Linked DNA regions of Homo sapiens: regions 2, 3, 4, 5 and 6 are each linked to region 1. The links are contacts of gene promoters, found by promoter capture Hi-C in blood cells and fetal thymus (Javierre and others, 2016). All regions are on one chromosome and are shown on one strand. Each heading gives the region's core, a stretch centred on a gene start or on the middle of the fragment in contact. The rest is flanking DNA. Distances are from core to core; before and after follow the strand shown.

Region 1 (2,889 bases), core at 144-2,643:
CACCAGGCACTACACAGAACTCCCCCCAACCTCTCAGAGTTCATCTCCTGCCTCGGCCCCTCTCCTTCGCTCCACCCAGCCCCTCTGGCCTCTGCCATTTCTCCATCCCACCCAGTGTGCTCTAACCCCAGAGCCTTCGCACTTGTGGTGTTCTCTGCCTGGGATACTCCTCCCCCAGAGATATCCTCATGGCTCCCCCTTAGTTTCTTCAAGTCTAATGCCACCTCCGTGAGGCCATCCCTGACTGCTCCATTTTAAATGGCAACACTTGCTCAGGCTGAAGTGCGTTCACTGCTCACTGCAGCCTCCACCTTCTGGGCTCAAGCAATCATCCTGCCTCAGCCTCCTGAGTAGCTGGGATTACAGGCATGAGCCACCCGCCTGTCCCAACTCTTTATGTTCCTCACTGAACCCTTCCCTGTTTCTTCAAATAGCCATTTTTACAGTCTAGTTTACTATTTTATTTTGCTTATTTTTCCCCCAAACTGGAATGTAAGCTCTCTCAAGCCAGGAATTTTGTTTTTTTAGCTCACAATTCTATCTCTGGCACCTAAAGCAGCGCCCAGCACATAGTAGGTGATCACTAGACAGTTGATTCACTGAGAGAACACAGAGGGACACCTCCCTAGGTCTCAGTCTAGGTGGCCAAGACAGGAGGCCCCACCAGTGACTGTGCCTTCCCCTCAGGGGGTCCGAGAGCTGGCGTGTGAGAGTGGCAGCCCCTGCCTGGCTCCGCTCAGCCATCTAGGGCACCCCTGGCAGGTGCTGTGCCTTGCCTGGGATGGAGGAGTCTCCGTCCACCTCTGGCTGGGTAGGGGCTAAGGCTGCGGGGCAGAGGGGCATCTGCTAAGGGGCACAGGCCAACCGGGCCCCAGGGAACCGCTGGCCACCTGAGATGGCAGGACAAACTCGGGCAGGCCTCCCCCCACCCCTCACACCTGGCTCACTGGTCCCACCGGGCGGTGACCTTCCCCAGGGTCACTGCCCTTTCTTGGCCCTACTCCTGGGGATCCAACCCGCTCCCAGGCTGTCGCTAGCTCCCTCCCGATCCTCTCCCTCCCCTTCATCCTGCCCAGACCCCTACCCCACCAGACCCCTCACCCGCCCTTGGTCAGATCTCTCTCCTACCCCGCTCCCCCACCCCCATCCCCACTTCCCCTCGGTCTTCACCCCGCCCCAGACACCCCCAGTCCCTCTCCCTGTCCTCCATGCCCACCCCGCCTTTCCTCCCTCGGGCCCCTGTCTCCCGCCCTAGCCCCCGCCCCTGCCCCAGCCCTGGCTCCGGCCCCGGTCAGTGCTGCGGCTCCGGCCCTGGCCGGCAGGGGCCGCTCCTCGCGGCGCCCGGGGCCCCGCCGCGCCCGCCGCCGCCGCCCGCCTCCCCGCCCCTTCCCCAGCCGGCGCTCCCGTTACGCCGCGGAGCCGGGAGCCGGAGCCCGAGCCCGCGGCGGCGGCGGGAGGCGGCGAGGGGGCGCCGCGGCGGCGGCGGTGGGGCCTGCGGGGCGGGCGGCCGGGCCCGGCCAGGCCGCGATGGCGACCAAGAAGGCAGGCTCGCGGCTGGAGACGGAGATCGAGCGCTGCCGCTCCGAGTGCCAGTGGGAGCGGATCCCTGAGCTCGTCAAGCAGCTGTCGGCCAAGCTCATCGCCAACGGTACGCTCCGGGCGCGCCGGCCTGGGCTGCGGGGGGCGCCGCGGCCTCCGCGGGAACGGGCCCCCGAGGCGCGGCCGGGCGCGGGGCGCGGGCAGGGGCGCGGCCGGGCCGCGAGGGAGCTGCGGCCCAGGGGATGTGCGCGGGACCGGGGCCTGGGGGAGCCCGGGTGCCCCGGAGTCACGCGGTGTGGGGGCCCGGGGGGGCGCCAGGGGCTGTCCCGGCGCCTGGGGTTCAAGCGTGCAGGGCGGGCTTCTGCGGAGTCTGGGGTGTCCGGGGGTCTCAGCGAGTCCGCTGCTCCACTGGGACCACAGGAGGTCAGGGGCCGGCCTGGGGCTTCCAAGAAGTTGGAGGTGATGGGGTGAGGGGGTCCCTCAGGACATGGGTGAAGTCCACAGTGTGTGTATGGTGTGCTCAGGGAATCAGGATGTGTTTATGGGGTCTTGAGAATGGGGTGTTGTACATAGACCCCTGGGGAATCTGGTTTGTAAACATATGGTGTTTAAGGGGTTCTGGGTGGAAGCGCAGACTCGAGGTGTGTGGGGTGGTGGTAGAAAGCAGGCTGGGATGTGCGTCCTGGCGTTCGGAGAAGTAGCATCAAGGCTGCCGACCTAGAGAGGTCAGGGTTGGGAATAGAGGAGAAATAGAGTCAGGGGGACCTGGAGGGAGAATATTGTGGAGCGAGATGGGAATGTGGTTGAAGAATGTCGGGAGATGGAGTTGGGTGGGTGAGGGGTTGGTGCCTGGGCCAGAAGGGGGTCTGAGGCAGCCTCTGAGTAGGAGCCTGGTGCCTGGAGTTGGTTCATGACCCCTTTAACTGGATTGGTTCTTGTACCCAATCAAATAAAATTGCATCCAGAATCCCATTCCAGTGCACAGCTCCACGTGGCCTTATTTGTTTTGGAAGCGAGTATCTTTAATATTTGCTTGTCTTTTAGTACCCGCCTAAAGCGCAGGCACCAGCACACCGTGGCCAGAGGGCAGAGGGTTTGTCTCATTTCATCCTGGGCTTCCCCAGGCCCAGTGAGCACATGTTGGCTGAACAAATGAATGAAAGAGTGAATGAATGGATGGCGGGGCTGCTCTAAGAAAGGACATCTGCACTATTTTCAACCTTCTCACTTCAGACTACCCAGAAAGGAGAGGGATGTCAGGTGTCCTCCTGGAGGGTGGTTTATGTTTGTGTCCTATGGTATTAGTGCCTGGAAATTAGAACTTGGTTTTGCGCACTCTCAATGATGGAT
Region 2 (2,889 bases), core at 257-2,756, 490 kb before region 1:
TGCTGCAGGACCACGAGCACCTGGGCACGCTGCACGAGCGGCAATCGGCCGAGTACGAGGCCCTCATCCGCCAGCACAGCTGCCTAAAGACACTGCATCGGAATCTGGAGCTGGAGCACAAGGAGCTCGGGGAGAGGTAGGGCCTGGGGAAGGAAGGGGATCTGGGGAGGGGTAGAGTCCAGAGGAGAGGCTGGGCCCAGGGGGAAAGGTGGGGCCTGGGGTAGATGGGTGGGACCTAGGGGAGAGGCAGGGCCTGGGGAAGATGGGTGGAGCCTGGAGGAGATGGGTGGGACCTGGGGGAGAGTGATAGAGCCTGGAGGAGGGGTGGGGCCTGGGGAGAGGGGTGGAGCCTGGAGGAGAGGCAGAGCCTGGGGAGAGAGGTGGAGCCTGGAGAGAGGCGGGGTCTGGGGGAGGTGGGTAGGACCTGTGGGAAAGGCAGGGACTGGGGGAGATGGGTGGAGCCTGGACGAGAGGCGGGGGCCTCGTGAGAAGGGTGGAGCCTGGAGGAGAGGTGGAGCCTGGAGCAGAGGTGGGGTCTCAGGAGAGGGTCTCAGGAGAGGCAGGGCTTTGGGGAAGTGGGCAGGGCCCGGGGGAGAGGCAGGGTGTGTGGGGAGGGGAGGTGAAGGAGGGTGGAGGTGGGGCCCCTGGGTAGGCCTGCAGCGGGGCCTGAGGCCAGGCCTGGGGAGTCTGTCAGGCTGCGCGGAGGACTGGGACTTCCCTGGACCTCCCCTGCAGGAAATCTCTTGGCCAGCTGCTTCCCATTGTTGGGGCACCTGAGCTTTCCCAAAAGGAAGGAAATAAACGTTACCTTTAGCAATTTGGAATTTGTGCAACTGAAGACAGTAGTAAGAGGGGCTCCTGTGTGGAGAAGGGGATGCCTCTACTATTTCCAGTGGGCCTTTGGGGCCCTGATCCCTAAGGGTTCTCTTCTGTCTCTTTTCTCCCCAAAACAGAAATAAGGAGGGAATTCTCCACGGCTCCGTTTGTAGGGGTATGCCTTCTCTGGCCTCCCAGCTCTTCTCTTTCATATCAAGGTCTCGCTTGCTTTTTTTCATTTTTAACCTTTAATTATGGAAACTTCCGAACATATAGAAAGGAAGCAGAATCATATAGTGAAACTCTTGTGTATGCATCATGCACTCTCGACAGTCATTTATGTCCTGCTGTTCTCATTTCATGTGCACCTCCCACTCTCCACACCCTCACCCCATTTTTTACAGGTAAAACTTACATTGAAATGCACACATCTTAACTTTGCACTCTTGACAGTTCATGGTCTTGGGTTTTGTATTCATTAAGTCAGCCAATCTGGGCTGGGATTCTGTCTCCTGCTGATCAGTGATGGTACCAGGCACCTGCGCAGGGCATGGCAGGATCCAGGGAGGGCTAGGAGAGGTAGGATGCTGCTCTCCAGAGTCTGAGGGGCAGGTGTGATGTGCACCTGAATCTGATGCATGAGAGAGACATGGCTAAAGAGAGGCTCTCAGGTACTTGGAGTACAACAGAGGGAGCAAGATCTACTTCCTTTGCCTGGGAAATGGCCCTGCTGATGGTATATCCTTTGGAGCCGCCTCAACAACATGGCTAAGTGATCGTTGGTTCTTCAAGGTGGGAGTGGGGAGGACATCTCCACGGTCAGGAGCCACAAATGTCATTGAATCACAAAAGCCTTGTGCGGGCGCTGATGATGCTTGTGGGTTCATGGGTGGTGATGACATTCATTTATTCACTTGCCAAGTGCTTCCTTTTTGTCTCTATCTGGAGTTCTTCACCCCTTTTATCCATCCAGATCTCCATCCTTCAGGGGCTGTTGAGGCATCTGAAACTATAAGACTACTCCTTCCGGCCTAAAGTAGCATCTTCTGCCTCTTTTCACTTTGATCTCTCCCTCGTCTTCCCCCACCCATCTTGTTATTTGTGTGACATTTATTGTGTACGTGGTGCTGTGTCTAGACATGGTAGGAGTTGCACCCAGCTGACAAACTAATGAAGCATTCGTGTAAGTCTGATACTAGCATGATGCCCAGCACTCACCAGGCACTTGCGTGCCTTATTCTTAGTGTTATGTTATGTCGTATTAAATAATGCTGTATTGTATTCTTTCCTTCTTTCTTTATTTTGAGATGGAGTCTCACTCTGTCGCCCAGGCTGGAGTGCAGTGGAGCGATCTTGGCTCACAGCAGCCTCCACCTCCCGGCTTCAAGCAATCCTCCTACTTCAGCCTCCCAAGTAGCTGGGACTACAGGCATGCACCACCACACCCGGCTAATTTTTGTATTTTTTAGTAGAGATGGGGTTTCACCATGTTGACCAGGCTGGTTTTGAACTCCCTACCTCAAGTGATCCACCTGTCTCGGCCTCCCAAAATGCTGGGATTATAGGCGTGAGCCACCGTGCTGACCCCTTATTGTATTCTTAATGTGCATTCAGAGAGCAAAGGTTTTGGCAGGTGGAGTCTGGACTGTTGTTTTCCCTGCAGGTCCTTGCTCAGTACAGCATGTGGTAGTTACTCAGTGCTTTTTGCTGGTTGGACAGATGACTGGAGGCTCCCTTGCTGTGTCTGCAGCAGGGCTACAGGTTTAGGAGTGTAGGTACATGGCACACAAGGATGATGGTTTTCTCTTCTTCTCATTTGACACTAAAATCGGAGACGCTCACCCACTCATTGCTCTAACAAGCATTCACTACGTGTCATTCCTCACACGGGGATTCAGTGGTGAGTAAGAGTTATAAAGTTTCTGCCCTACAGTTGGGTCATTGCTAATGGTTAGAGACATGCTTGATTAATGTGCTTTTCCAACAAGGTGCAGTGGAGTCCTGAAGAGAAAGGCCAGAAACCCCAGGGACACTGGCTAGCCTCTGTCAGATTGTCTTTGGGTGTGAGACACT
Region 3 (2,889 bases), core at 214-2,713, 430 kb after region 1:
CAGAACCAGTGATTGGCACAAATGGGTACTGTTGCTGAGGTCTTGATACACGGAAAACCAGACCATAATGATAAATCAGGTAAATTGATGCTGATTGTGGGTTATATTAAAGAATTGGCCCCACCAATTCCAACAGACTTAAGATCTAATTTGGCAACTGTGTGGTTTGGTTTTCAATCAATAAATAGCCTCTGTCCTGCCTTCTAGAGCTGTGCTGCCCAATCCAGTAGTCACTAATCACATGTGGCTATTTAAATCAAACTTAATTAAAATTTAAAATTGAGTTCCTCAGTCTTTATAGCCACATTTCAAGTGCTCAATAGGCCCATATGGCTAGTGGTTACCATATTGGGCAGCATGGAACATTTCCATCATTCCAATAAGTTACATCAGATAGCTCCATTCTAGAAATTTTAAAAAAGGAAGTATCTGTGTTTGCCTGGATCAGGAATGTTGAGGATCCCAAAATTTCTAATAGCACATCCATGATCTTTGTCTATCCCAATGAGCTTGTCCCCTTCTGATCCATCCAATGCACAGCTGCCAGCAGTTTCATCATGTCACTCCCATGCTCAAAAACCCTCAATGCCTCCCAATGCCTTTCAACAGTTTGCCAATCTACTTTTTCAGCATTACCATCCTTTGTTATTCTATACATTCTTTGCTTCAGACAAATCAGTATCGTCTCTGTCCCCTGAATATACATTGTCTCCTCTCAACTCATTGCCTTTTCCATGCCATTCCTAGTGTCCAAATGCCTATCCATATCCTCACCACCTATCTAAATCCTACGGGTCCTTCATGCCCAGTTTAAATGCAACATGTTTCAAACTTTCCTGATTATCACAACTCCAAATGAACTTCCTCTCCGCTGAATTCCTACCCCTCTTGTCCTTTTCTACCTGATATTATCGTTTCATATATCTAACATCAACCAGATAGTAGTAGAAGCCAAGATATACTTTTTGAACTCAGCATAGCATTTGACTCATTAAACACCAGTCAACTATTTAATTGATTAGTGTTGAGCTCAATTCACTCTCAGGACTGAAGAGGATATTAAAAGTGAATTTCTCAAAATACAAAAGGAAAAGAAAGTCCTTTGCTTTAATTCTGAAAGCAAGGTGGGAGGCCACACCTCCTGAGGAACATCCTGAACTATCCCTGCTTTGATCCCAACCTGTATCCTTCTACAGTCACGAGCAAGCGTATACCTTGGCTGACCCATCCTTTGGCAATTTTCTTCAGACTTTCACATAACTGGATCCATCCTCTGCTTCCTATAATGGAGAAAATATGGTCAAAGGGAAGTTGTCTTTGAACAGAAAAACCACCTCCATCTGAATCTAGTGAAGATGCTTATTGAGTTTTATTCATTCTAAGTTGAGGCTCTGAGTCATTGGCTAATAAACCAACTCCAGGCATCACAACGGGATGATTGAATCATTTGGCCACTGAAAAGATGTACCTTCAGGAGTGTTTTCAAGTTGTACAACTGAGTATCAGTGTGTCACCTTCCTTCTCATTCTCATTCTCATAAACCAAAAAGCATAGACAGAAAATTTGTCTTATTTTGATGAAGGGTTACTCAAGGCTTTGTTATTTTCATTGTTTTGACAAAGCAAATAGCTTTTTCCCAAGAAGAGGACCATATTGCTGCATCTCATTTGCTAGGTTAAATGGCTGATTCGTTGGCCACTTAGCCAGGCAGACTCAGCTATCTCATCTGTAACATTAGTGTAATAAACAAACCCTAGGGAAATATACGATGTGGTTGCGTATAATATTTAAAATATCATTGTGCTAAATGGCAATGGGTGGGTCAGAAATCCATTCAGAACCCAGGTCAGGGGGTCTGACTTAGTCTGCGGAAGGGCTCAGCAGTGGGAAGATCCAACTCGGTCTCCCATCATTTGGCAGCACCCCCAACAGGTTGGTACTCAGGGCACTGAGCCCTCAGCCGCCTCACCCTCCACCAGTCCCATGCAATTCTGCTGAGTCATCACTGTCTTCCACAGCAGCCCAAGAGATTTGTGACTCAGAGAACTGATTTGTAGTTTCATGTTTCACTGCTCCAGCTCTTCCCTGCCACACGAAGGTTCACAGTTGCACCTGTTTCCCACAAAGTTTGAAACTTAGGAAATGACCTTAAAACTGAATAGCAGCAAAACATATGAGCCATATTTTAAATGGTCTGCTGACACGGAGATTCTACTAGAGGCATTTCTGATTTTCAAGTCCTAAAGAAGGGGAAAGAACTGAGAAAAGGTATTCTGCGCTTTGTACCTGTGGGAACTTTATTTTTATTTTTTAATTTTTTATACAGATTCAATTGAGACCTGTGGGAACCTTTGCATATGGGAATACTTCGTGGTTTGAGCACACATTTCAAACTGTGTTCCGTATGGTGACACCATAGGCTCCCACCGAGCCATTCTGACTTTCGAAACTTGTATGCTGTGAATATTTGCTAGACGGCCAGCTGGGTTAGGGGGTTAGGATACTGCTGAAGCCTTGGAACAAGTTTCTCTTTCTGTGAAAGAGCACCATGCTCTAAACAAGTCCAATCATACTGTTTTAACCACCTGAAGAAAAGAAATCAAAATTTTAGAAAGCAGCCTAAAAGTCACATAATGGGAAATAAAGACATAAACATTATTCCTTTTTTATGCAGAACAAAGAGTTTATTATAAATGTTCTTCATGAAAAAAAAAACCCTTAGCAAACTGGGCTAGAAAGGATTTATTTTTTATAGATTTAAAGGGTACATTTTTGTTACATGTATATATTGCACAGTGGTGGAGTCTGGGCTTTTAGTGTGACTGTCACCTGAGTAGTATACGATGTACCCAACAGGTAATTTCTCATCCCTCACTGCCCTCCCACTTT
Region 4 (2,889 bases), core at 270-2,769, 410 kb after region 1:
TCAGGCCACTGCACTCCAGCCTGAGCGACAGAGCAAGACTCCATCTCAAAAAAATAAAAATAAAAATGGGAATGGGCTGTTAATTAACTTCTTGTCATTGAAAGGGAGAAAGCCCAAGTTCTGCCTTGTGGAAACAGGATTAGATGTCCAGTGTTAGAAGTATTCCAAGTTTGAGAATCACCAGATATGGATACCTGCACTCAGAGGAAGTTTTACCTATATGACCTGTTCCTTTTAACTAAGATATGATTTTATAATTACTTTTTTACTTATTTTCCATTTTTAAAACAATCTATCTCAAATCTTGATTCTGATATGTCTATGCAGGAAAAAATCTATCTTTTGCTAAAAAATGCAGTAACTTAAAAAAAATCACAACTTGAAGGGTATACAAAGACTCAAAATGAAAAATCAGTTTAAAAGCAAACATGCTTACATACAGCCAGGATCTAAAGATCTTGTTGTAACAAAATGTTCAAATAATTATATTGCTAGAGGAAACTCTGGATTTTCCTTTTAGCCTTTGTAAAACTGAAAATAAAACTAAGATATGATATTGAAAAGACTATCTGGGGCTGGGTACAGTGACTCATGCCTATAATCCCAGCACTTTGGGAGGCCAAGGCGGACAGATGACCTGAGGTCAGGAGTTCAAAACCAGCCTCGCCAACATAGTGAAACTCCGTCTCTATTAAAAATACAAAAATTAGCCAGACGTGGTGGTGTGCGCCTGTAGTCCCAGCTACTCAGGAGGCTGAGGCAGGAGAATTGCTTGAACCCAGGAGGCGAAGGTTGCAGTGAGCCAAGATCACACCACTGCACTCCAGCCTGAGTGACAGAGCAAGACTCTGTCTCAAAAAAAAAAAAAAAAAAAAAAAAAAATTATCTGAGCCAAGGCACAGTGGCTCACACTTGTAATCCCAACACTTTGGGAGGCCAAGGTGGGAGGATTTGTTGAGCCCAGGAGTTTGAGACCAGCCTAAGCAACATGTGAAACCGCGTCTGCATAAAAAAATTTAAAAATTAGCTGAGCACAGCAGCACATCCCTGTAGTCCCAGCTACTGGGGGGGCTGAGGTGGGAGGATCATTTGAACCTGGGAGGTGGAGGCTGCAGTGAGCTGTGATTGTGCCACTGCACTCCAGCCTGAGTGAGAATGAGACCCCACCTCAAAAGAGAAAAAAAAAACCCCACAATCTGAATGTGTCAATTCACACTCATTCCTAAGGTTCCTGACACAAAGAACATAATTCTCATGAGGAAAACTGCCACTTGATTTAATCAGAGTTCAGGGGCTTTAATGGGAGTTCTGGTCCATGAGCTAACTCCTCCCACTCCTTGGCAGAGAGTTGAGGGCAGTGGGAGAGAAGCACCAAGCTATAAAAAGCTTTATGTTTTATTTCCTTCTAAGGCATCCTGAGTCATTGGGTGCTCCAGCCCCCCAGTGCCCGGGAAAGTTCAGCTTGAATCGGAAATGTGTGTGTGTTTTTCTAAACCGGAGCTGCTGAAAACCAGATGATGTCACTTGGACTGAATCCCTTACAGGCCCAGTGGTAGCCTCCTATTTCCGTCCTGGGAGAATGGAAGTCACTTAACAATCAGTTTCTCTGACCCAGGTTCCAATATTACATCACGTCTTAATAGCAAGCTTAACCTCCACTCCACCTCCAACATGAAGCTGGTGAGAATTTTTAAATCCCATTTGTCATCTCAAAGGACACAGCACTCCTACACAATTTTGCCTCCCATCCTTTAGGCTGCAATTTCATCTATCTAAACACAAAGTGATGCCAAACCAGGTCGGTCATAATCCTAGAAAGCCACAGGCAGAAGGTACCAAGTCCAATATGATCTTACCAAGGAGGATACCAAGGCCTGGGAAAGGTAAAGAACCTGCCTGAGGCTGGAGGGACAGAACCAAATCCAGAAGCCAGGTCTAAAGCCTCAGAGCAGAGGGCCGTCTCCACGGTGATGACCATGTCCTTATAGTCCCAGCTCCTATGTGCAGGAGGGGCTCTTTAAATGCTTTCTGGAGATGTGTCTCAAGCCTTCTGTCGAAAGCAGGGCCTTATCCCGCCCCGCTTTTCAGCCCTCTCACTCCTTCTGGGCAGAGTGGGAAACACACGAGGCAGCTGGAAAAGGCCTTTCTGGAAGCAAAGGGGGCAGAAGCAGGCAGCCTCTCCTGCTACATCTAAGAACCAGGGTCTGGGCCAGTGTTGACTAAGGGGAAGGCTTCAATGCCAAGGTCCTAAATTGTACTTGCATCCCACCCCACTTTCCTCAGCTGTCCCGCTCTTGACATGAACCAAGGTATCATCTTGGTTGTCATCTAAAATTCCCATCTTATTGAAAAAAATGTATTTCTTTATACAAGTCCTAAAGAGGCTTGGATTGGGGTTAAAAGGAAACTAATCCTTATGGTGTAAATTTTCCGCATAAAAAGCAAGCATGGACAAGTTAATAGGCTAAGAGAATAGGTTAAAATGTCAGCTATTAACACTCAAACTACTTAAAACTAGGGTAAGACGGTTGTGGGATGTGTCTACGGTTATTTCTGGCCCCTCACTCTCACAGTACTAGAGACCCAGTGAAATTACATCTGAGGGCAGGTCTATCTTGTTGAGAGCAAAAGGAATTGAAAGCTATGCAAGCTAGAAACCTACACAGTTCGCAGTTAGAGATGAAAGGCTGCAGAAATGTTTATTGAATACAGTGCCAGGTTTATAAATAAAACGTATTTACAATTTCCATAGAGTTGGTCCCCCATCAGAGAGGTGGTTAAATCTCCAAACAGTTTATCTCAAGATTTACAGAAACGTCCAAGTACATCTCCTTTTCAAATAGCCATGGTGAAGGGCAACTTCAGTAACAAAAGAACTACCACCATCTT
Region 5 (2,889 bases), core at 154-2,653, 350 kb before region 1:
AAAGTAAATGGTGGCCAGGCACGGTGGCTCATGACTGTAATCCCAGCACTTTGGGAGGCCGAGGCGGGCAGATCACTTGAACTCCGGAGTTCAAGACAAGCCTGGGCAACAAGGTGAAACCCCGTCTATACTAAAAATACAAAAACTAGCCAGGCATGGTGGTACACAGCTGTAATCTCAGCTACTCAGGAGGCTGAAGCAGGAGAATCGCTTGAACCTGGGAGGTGGAGGTTGTAGTGAGCCGAGATCGTGCCACTGCACTACTCCAGCCTGGGCAACAGAGTGAGACTGCCTCAAAGAAAAAAAAAAAAAAAGAAGAAGAAGAAAAGTAAATGGTGGCCTCTCTGCTATAGAGGTAGGACCAGTAGCCCAAAGGGGACAGAGAATATGTGTCTTGGGGAACCTCTCAGTGCCAGTAGTGGGTGAGGCCTTTCTCTTCCCTTAAAGGAAACTCTTCTGTAGGGTTGAAAGACTTCTTTGGTTACAAGCTTATTCTTTACCCACTCCAAACTCTTTTACTGAGCCATGCCTTCATGCCGGGCACATGCTGGGCGATGGGGCTAGAGTAATGGAGAGGACACTGTCCCAGTCTTTTTTTCTTTTTTTAATGTTTTTTATTTATTTATTTTTTTTTTGAGACAGAGTCTTGCTCTGTTGCCCAGCCTGGAGTGCAGTGGTGCAACCTCGGCTCACTGCAACCTCTGCCTCCCAGGTTCAAGTGATTCTCCCACCTCAGCCTCCCAAATAGCTGAGATCATAGGCCCGAACCACCATGCCCGGCTAATTTCTGTATTTTTAGTAGAGACAGCGTTTCACCGCGTTGGCCAGGCTGGTCTCGAATTCCTGATCTCAGGTGATCTGCTCTCCTTGGCCTCCCAAAGTGCTGGGATTACAGGCGTGAGCCACCGCGCCCATCCCATCCCAGCATTTAAAGAGCTCGTAACCCTAATTGATAGGTGAGACTTCACTGAAAACACATACTGGCAATACACAGCAAGGAATGTCAACCGTCTAGGTAGAGTGACACAGAGAAGGAAGAAATCAATTCTCTTCCACAGAGGAGTTTGGTGCTGGGTCTTGAGGCATGAATAGGAGTTTGCCAGTTGGGCAAGGAAGAAGGCATACCCAGGCAGAGGAAGCAGCACGTGGAAAGCCCACTGGGGGATGGGCTCCAGGAGTTTCCAAGTTGGCAGCACAGGAGGCACCGGGGAAAAATGTAAAGGTACAATCATGGGCCCAGATGGGGTCTCCAAAGGACCTTCCCGTCCTAAAATGATCATGACAGAATGTTCCTGGGGGGTTTTCTGTCTCGGGAACTGGCTGGGGATGACTGGAGTGTCAGGGGTCAGGGGAGAAACTGAGCTGGGGCCAGGTCACCATGGGCTTGAGATCAGGCTGAGGTCCAAGCCATAAGAAGATGCTGAAGAATTTTATTTTATTTTATATATATATATTTTAGACAGGGTCTTGCCCTGTTGCCCAGGCTGGAGTGCAGTGACATGATCTCGGCTCACCGCAGCCTCAACCTCCTGGTCTCAAGCAATCCTCCTCAGCCTCCCGAGTAGCTGGGACCACAGGTGTGCACCGCTATGCCCAGTTAATTTTTAAAAAAAAAATTTGTAGAGACCAGGTCTTCCCTATGTTGCCCAGGCTGGTCTCAAACTCCTGGGCTCAAGCCATCCTCCTGCCTCAGCCTCCCGAAGTACTGGGATTACAGGCATGAACCACAGCACCCAGTCTGAAGGAGTTTTAAGAGGAGAGCCACATGATCGGGTTTAGCATTAGAAAGTCACTCTGCTGGGAAAGCAGATGATGACAGGGTTGGGGAAGAAAGGATGAGACTAGGGCTAGGCCAGGGAAGATGCCAGTCTGTGCTGGTGCCATAGGAAAGGTAGACTCGTGGGAGAGGTACACCGACCCAGCATCAGTAGGGCCATTTACTAGATAGGTTCTAGTTTAAAAGCCTGGGAGAACAGACACAATATCTCTGTCTCTGGGTGTTGGTAATGCAAGTGTTTTTTATTTTCTTCTTAATCCTGTACAGGCGGGTTTCTGGCTTGGGCGATGGAGTGGACAGATGGCAGAGCCAGTGGGATTTCTCCAGGGCTGGACTTTCTCCATGATCTCAAAGATCTCAGCCAGGACAGGCGCCAGGTGATAGGGGAAGGAGTCAGAACAGTGGGGAGGGCAGCTCGTTCCTGAGCAACAGTCATGAGTGAGGTTCTGTGCCAGGCACTGTGAAGGTCCCTGAGGCTGGACAGAGAGGTCCCGGATGACAGAGACACCTGGCTACAGCACCTGGACACTCCCAAGCTTCAACCCACAGTAACCCAAGCTTTTTACCTGGTCTCTGAGATAGCACCTTGAGGGGGCAGCATCCACTTTTCTGGCTCACTCTGGCCCAGCAGGGGTAGAGGACCAGTGTTGACCTGGCAGAATCTTTCAAAAGCTGGAGCAAGGGACCTGGGCAGGACCACCAGGCTGGCTGGTCGGAGCTCTGGGTATGGTGGGAGAAGGGAAAAATGTATAGTCAGCGGTTTCTTGGCAGACACTTACTGATTTTCTTTCTTTTTTTTTTTTTTGAGGCGGAGTTTCGCTCTTGTAGCCCATGCTGGAGTGCAATGGCACAATCTTGGCTCACTGCAACCTCCGCCTCCTGGGTTCAAGCAATTCTCCTGCCTCAGCCCCCCGAGTAGCTGGGATCACAGGCGTCTGCCACCACGCCTAGCTAATTGTTTGTATTTTTAGTAGAGACTAAAAATATACATGGGATATTTATTGGCCCATGTTGGGCCAACTGTTCCATGTTGGACAGGCTGGTCTTGAACTCCTGACCTCAGGTGATCCACCCGCCTCGGCCTCCCAAAGTGCTGGGTTACAGGCATGAGC
Region 6 (2,889 bases), core at 114-2,613, 330 kb before region 1:
GGCAGTTCCTTTAAGGATGTTTAGCTACTTCTGGCACTGCACAGCTCAACCAACGGCCTGACCCACAAGCCTACTTCAGGGTCACCATGAGCACCACTCCCTGGTTGGAGAGACTGGGGGCTCCACACATCTCCATCACTGGGAGAGAATTTGCCAGAGTGATAACGACCTAGAGACACCACCTGCATACACAGAAGACAGGCTGAACTAATAGCAAAGTATGCAAACTCTTTGGGCCTCAGTTTCTTTCTTTTCTTTTCTTTTCTTTTTTTTTTTTTTGAGATAGAGTTTCGCTCTTGTTGCCCAGGCTGGGGTGCAATGGCACCATCTCGGCTCACAGCAACCTCCGCCGCACGGGTTCAAGTGATTCTCCTGCCTCAGCCTCCCGAGTAGCTGGGATTACAGGCATGCGCCACCACGCCTGGCTAATTTTGTATTTTTAGTAGAGACGGGGTTTCTCCATGTTGGTCAGGCTGATCTCAAACTCCCCACCTCAGGTGATCCACCCGCCTCGGCCTCCCAAAGTGCTGAAATTACAGGTATGAGCCACCGCGCGTAGCCTTTACTTTTCTTTTTTTGAGACAGGGTCTCACTCTGTCGCCCAGGCTGGGGTGCAGTGGCACAATCACGGCTTACTGCAGCCTTGACCTCCTGGGATCAAGCGATCCTCCTACCTCAGCTTCCTCAGTAGCTGCTACTACAGGTACACTGCACCATGCCTGGCTAACTTCTGTATTTTTTTGGTAGAGACAAGGTTTCACTATCTTGTCCAAGGCTGGTCTTGAACTCTTGAGCTCAAGTGATCCTCCTGCCTTGGCCTCCCAAAGTGCTGGGGTTACAGGCATGAGCCACTGCGCCCAGCAAGGGCCTCAGTTTCTTCATGTCAAATGCCACACATGCAGGACAGACATTTTGTTAGCACCTTCTGGTTCTATCATTTTCGTAATCTGTAACTAAACAATAATTTATGAGTTAATGATGTTATTGAGTTTTAAGTTTTTGGTTGTTAAAATAAATTCCTAGCCAGGCACAGTGGCTCATGCCTATAATCCCAGCACTTTGAGAGGCCAAGGTGGGTGGATCGCTTGAGCTCAGGAGTTCGAGACCAGCCTGAGCAAAATGGTGAGACCCTGTCTTTACTAAAAATACAAAAAAATAGCCAGGCATGGTGGTACACACCTGTGGTCCCAGCTACTTGGGAGGCTGAGGTAGGAATATCGCTTGAGCCTTGGGGGTGGAGGTTGCAGTGAGCCGAGATGGAGCCACTGCACTCCAGCCTGGGTGATGGAGAGAGATCCTGTCTCAAGAAAAAAAAAAAATCCTTTGTTAGAGATGTGTGTATCTTTCTTTTTTGAGACAGAGATTTACTCTGCCATCCAGGCTGGAGTGCAGCGGTGCAATCTTGGCTCACTGTAACCTCCACCTACTTAGTTCAAGCGATTCTCCTGCCTCACCCTCCCAAGTAGCTGGGATTACAGGTGCGTGCCACTGCACCTGGCTAATTTTTGTATTTTTAGTAGAAATGGGGTTTCACTATGTTGGCCAGGCTGGTCTTGAACTCCTGACCTTAAGTGATCCACCTGCCTCAGCCTCCCAAAGTGCTGGGACTACAGGCTCACGTGCGCCACTGCGCCCCGTCTGTGTTTCTTTAATTGAGAATAAAATTACCTTCAGTTGGTTGGTCTGGTCTCAGAATCACACATTGGTCCAGAATTACACTTGCCCTGCTCTGAAGAAGAATGCCACCTGAGAGCACAAATGTATAGAAAGAAATGTACATAATAAAGCCATCACAGAAGCAGATATGATGGGACAGATATAATAACAGATGCCCTTTCAACTTGATCCTCTCATGCTAGGCCTAAAATAAAAGAGTTAGATTTAGTGTGTGTATATATGGGTTACGTTTCAGAAGACATGAAATTGGTCTAAATCTAAATAAAAATGAGCTAAGCTCTGCCTAGGTTCATTTACATTCATCTATCAACAGCCTTGCAGAGATGGTTATGTAAGTGCTACGGGATGGTTCCAGCACTTGTTTCAAAGGGTCTTTCAGTCCATTCAAGCTGCATCCAAAAATAGTTGAGGCTGGGCCCTATTCTGTACTGCCTGTGGCTTCACAAACTGAAAACCACCATATCAGACGTGGTTATGCCCTACCTTGCTCGGCTTTCTGGGTTAGATCCTCTGAAATTTCATTTTATGAGTATTCCTGATTACCAAATGTTCAGAACTCAGCTCCTGCCCCACAAATTCTTTATGACATTGCATAAAACCAGTGACAGTGCCACATCCAGGCAGGATGAGGACCACGCACTCCTAACTATGGAGACAGGAATGCTGGCAGTGCTACTTTTGAGGTCACTGTTGGCCAAGATAATTGCTTCACTAGGCAAAGGCAAACCCCCTTAAGTGAGTTTCCTGAGGACTCAGAGAGGAAGGCCACAGGTGCTCCAGGAGGAGGATGCACCATCAGGGACCTTGGACAATGACAGCAAGACAGTGAGAAGCCTCTGGGGACCATTCTACAGGGGACTTCTTCCCTGGCCGTGCAGCTGACAGGCCCCAGGAAGCAGAGTCCCTGGGCTCTCCCTGGCAGCTCTCGGTGCATTTCCAGGGGAACAGCTTGGCAGCCCCGTGCTGGGTGGTGCGCTCCATCTATTTCTATGGTACCTATCACCATGGTACCTACTTGCTCTGAAAAACACAGCTAAAAACAGAACATAAAGAATAGGAGCACAGTCCGCTTCCCTGCAGTCACCTTCTGCAGCTGTTGTTATGCCTCAAGATTGCTCTCATGGGCCCCCTTCCATTCTGAGTTTCCATGTTTTTGTTGTTTGTGACCTTCAAAAACAAGAGGCTTACTAGCCGCATCAGCCTTGTCTTGGG

Evidence for each region. The method cuts DNA at HindIII sites, captures the fragments that hold promoters and counts their contacts. A CHiCAGO score of 5 or more calls a contact.
Region 2: a contact is called between a fragment that was not itself captured here and the fragment with the promoter of TTC7B in region 1, in 1 of 17 cell types (megakaryocytes). The highest score is 6.3, in megakaryocytes.
Region 3: a contact is called between a fragment that was not itself captured here and the fragment with the promoter of TTC7B in region 1, in 3 of 17 cell types (endothelial precursors, erythroblasts and M1 macrophages). The highest score is 7.0, in endothelial precursors.
Region 4: a contact is called between a fragment that was not itself captured here and the fragment with the promoter of TTC7B in region 1, in 1 of 17 cell types (endothelial precursors). The highest score is 5.4, in endothelial precursors.
Region 5: a contact is called between a fragment that was not itself captured here and the fragment with the promoter of TTC7B in region 1, in 1 of 17 cell types (megakaryocytes). The highest score is 5.8, in megakaryocytes.
Region 6: a fragment that was not itself captured here is called in contact with the fragment with the promoter of TTC7B in region 1 in 1 of 17 cell types (megakaryocytes); the score reaches 5.8 in megakaryocytes.

Annotation. Positions count from the first base shown.
Region 1 is chr14:90,814,934-90,817,822 of GRCh38, reverse strand. It overlaps TTC7B (tetratricopeptide repeat domain 7B), which reads left to right and starts at 1,393. Exons shown (of 20, transcript NM_001010854.2): 1 at 1,393-1,648. The coding sequence starts at 1,528. RefSeq lists a silencer at 1,220-1,399. The HindIII fragment of the contact is 10,969 bases long and covers 1-2,889 here.
Region 2 is chr14:91,300,948-91,303,836 of GRCh38, reverse strand. CCDC88C (coiled-coil domain containing 88C) reads left to right here. Exons shown (of 30, transcript NM_001080414.4): 20 at 1-136. Among named protein-coding and RNA genes, the nearest start is that of GPR68, 58 kb to the right of the region's middle. RefSeq lists silencers at 255-414, 575-634. The HindIII fragment of the contact is 6,207 bases long and covers 1-2,889 here.
Region 3 is chr14:90,387,747-90,390,635 of GRCh38, reverse strand. No RefSeq gene overlaps it. Among named protein-coding and RNA genes, the nearest start is that of CALM1, 7.8 kb to the left of the region's middle. The HindIII fragment of the contact is 3,178 bases long and covers 1-2,889 here.
Region 4 is chr14:90,408,053-90,410,941 of GRCh38, reverse strand. It overlaps CALM1 (calmodulin 1), which reads right to left. Exons shown (of 6, transcript NM_006888.6): 6 at 2,674-2,889. Among named protein-coding and RNA genes, the nearest start is that of CALM1, 12 kb to the right of the region's middle. The HindIII fragment of the contact is 261 bases long and covers 1,389-1,649 here.
Region 5 is chr14:91,166,833-91,169,721 of GRCh38, reverse strand. It overlaps DGLUCY (D-glutamate cyclase), which reads right to left. Exons shown (of 14, transcript NM_001102368.3): 4 at 2,344-2,497. Among named protein-coding and RNA genes, the nearest start is that of SNORA11B, 42 kb to the right of the region's middle. The HindIII fragment of the contact is 1,825 bases long and covers 491-2,315 here.
Region 6 is chr14:91,146,638-91,149,526 of GRCh38, reverse strand. All of the region lies in intron 1 of DGLUCY (D-glutamate cyclase), which reads right to left. Among named protein-coding and RNA genes, the nearest start is that of SNORA11B, 22 kb to the right of the region's middle. The HindIII fragment of the contact is 3,526 bases long and covers 1-2,889 here.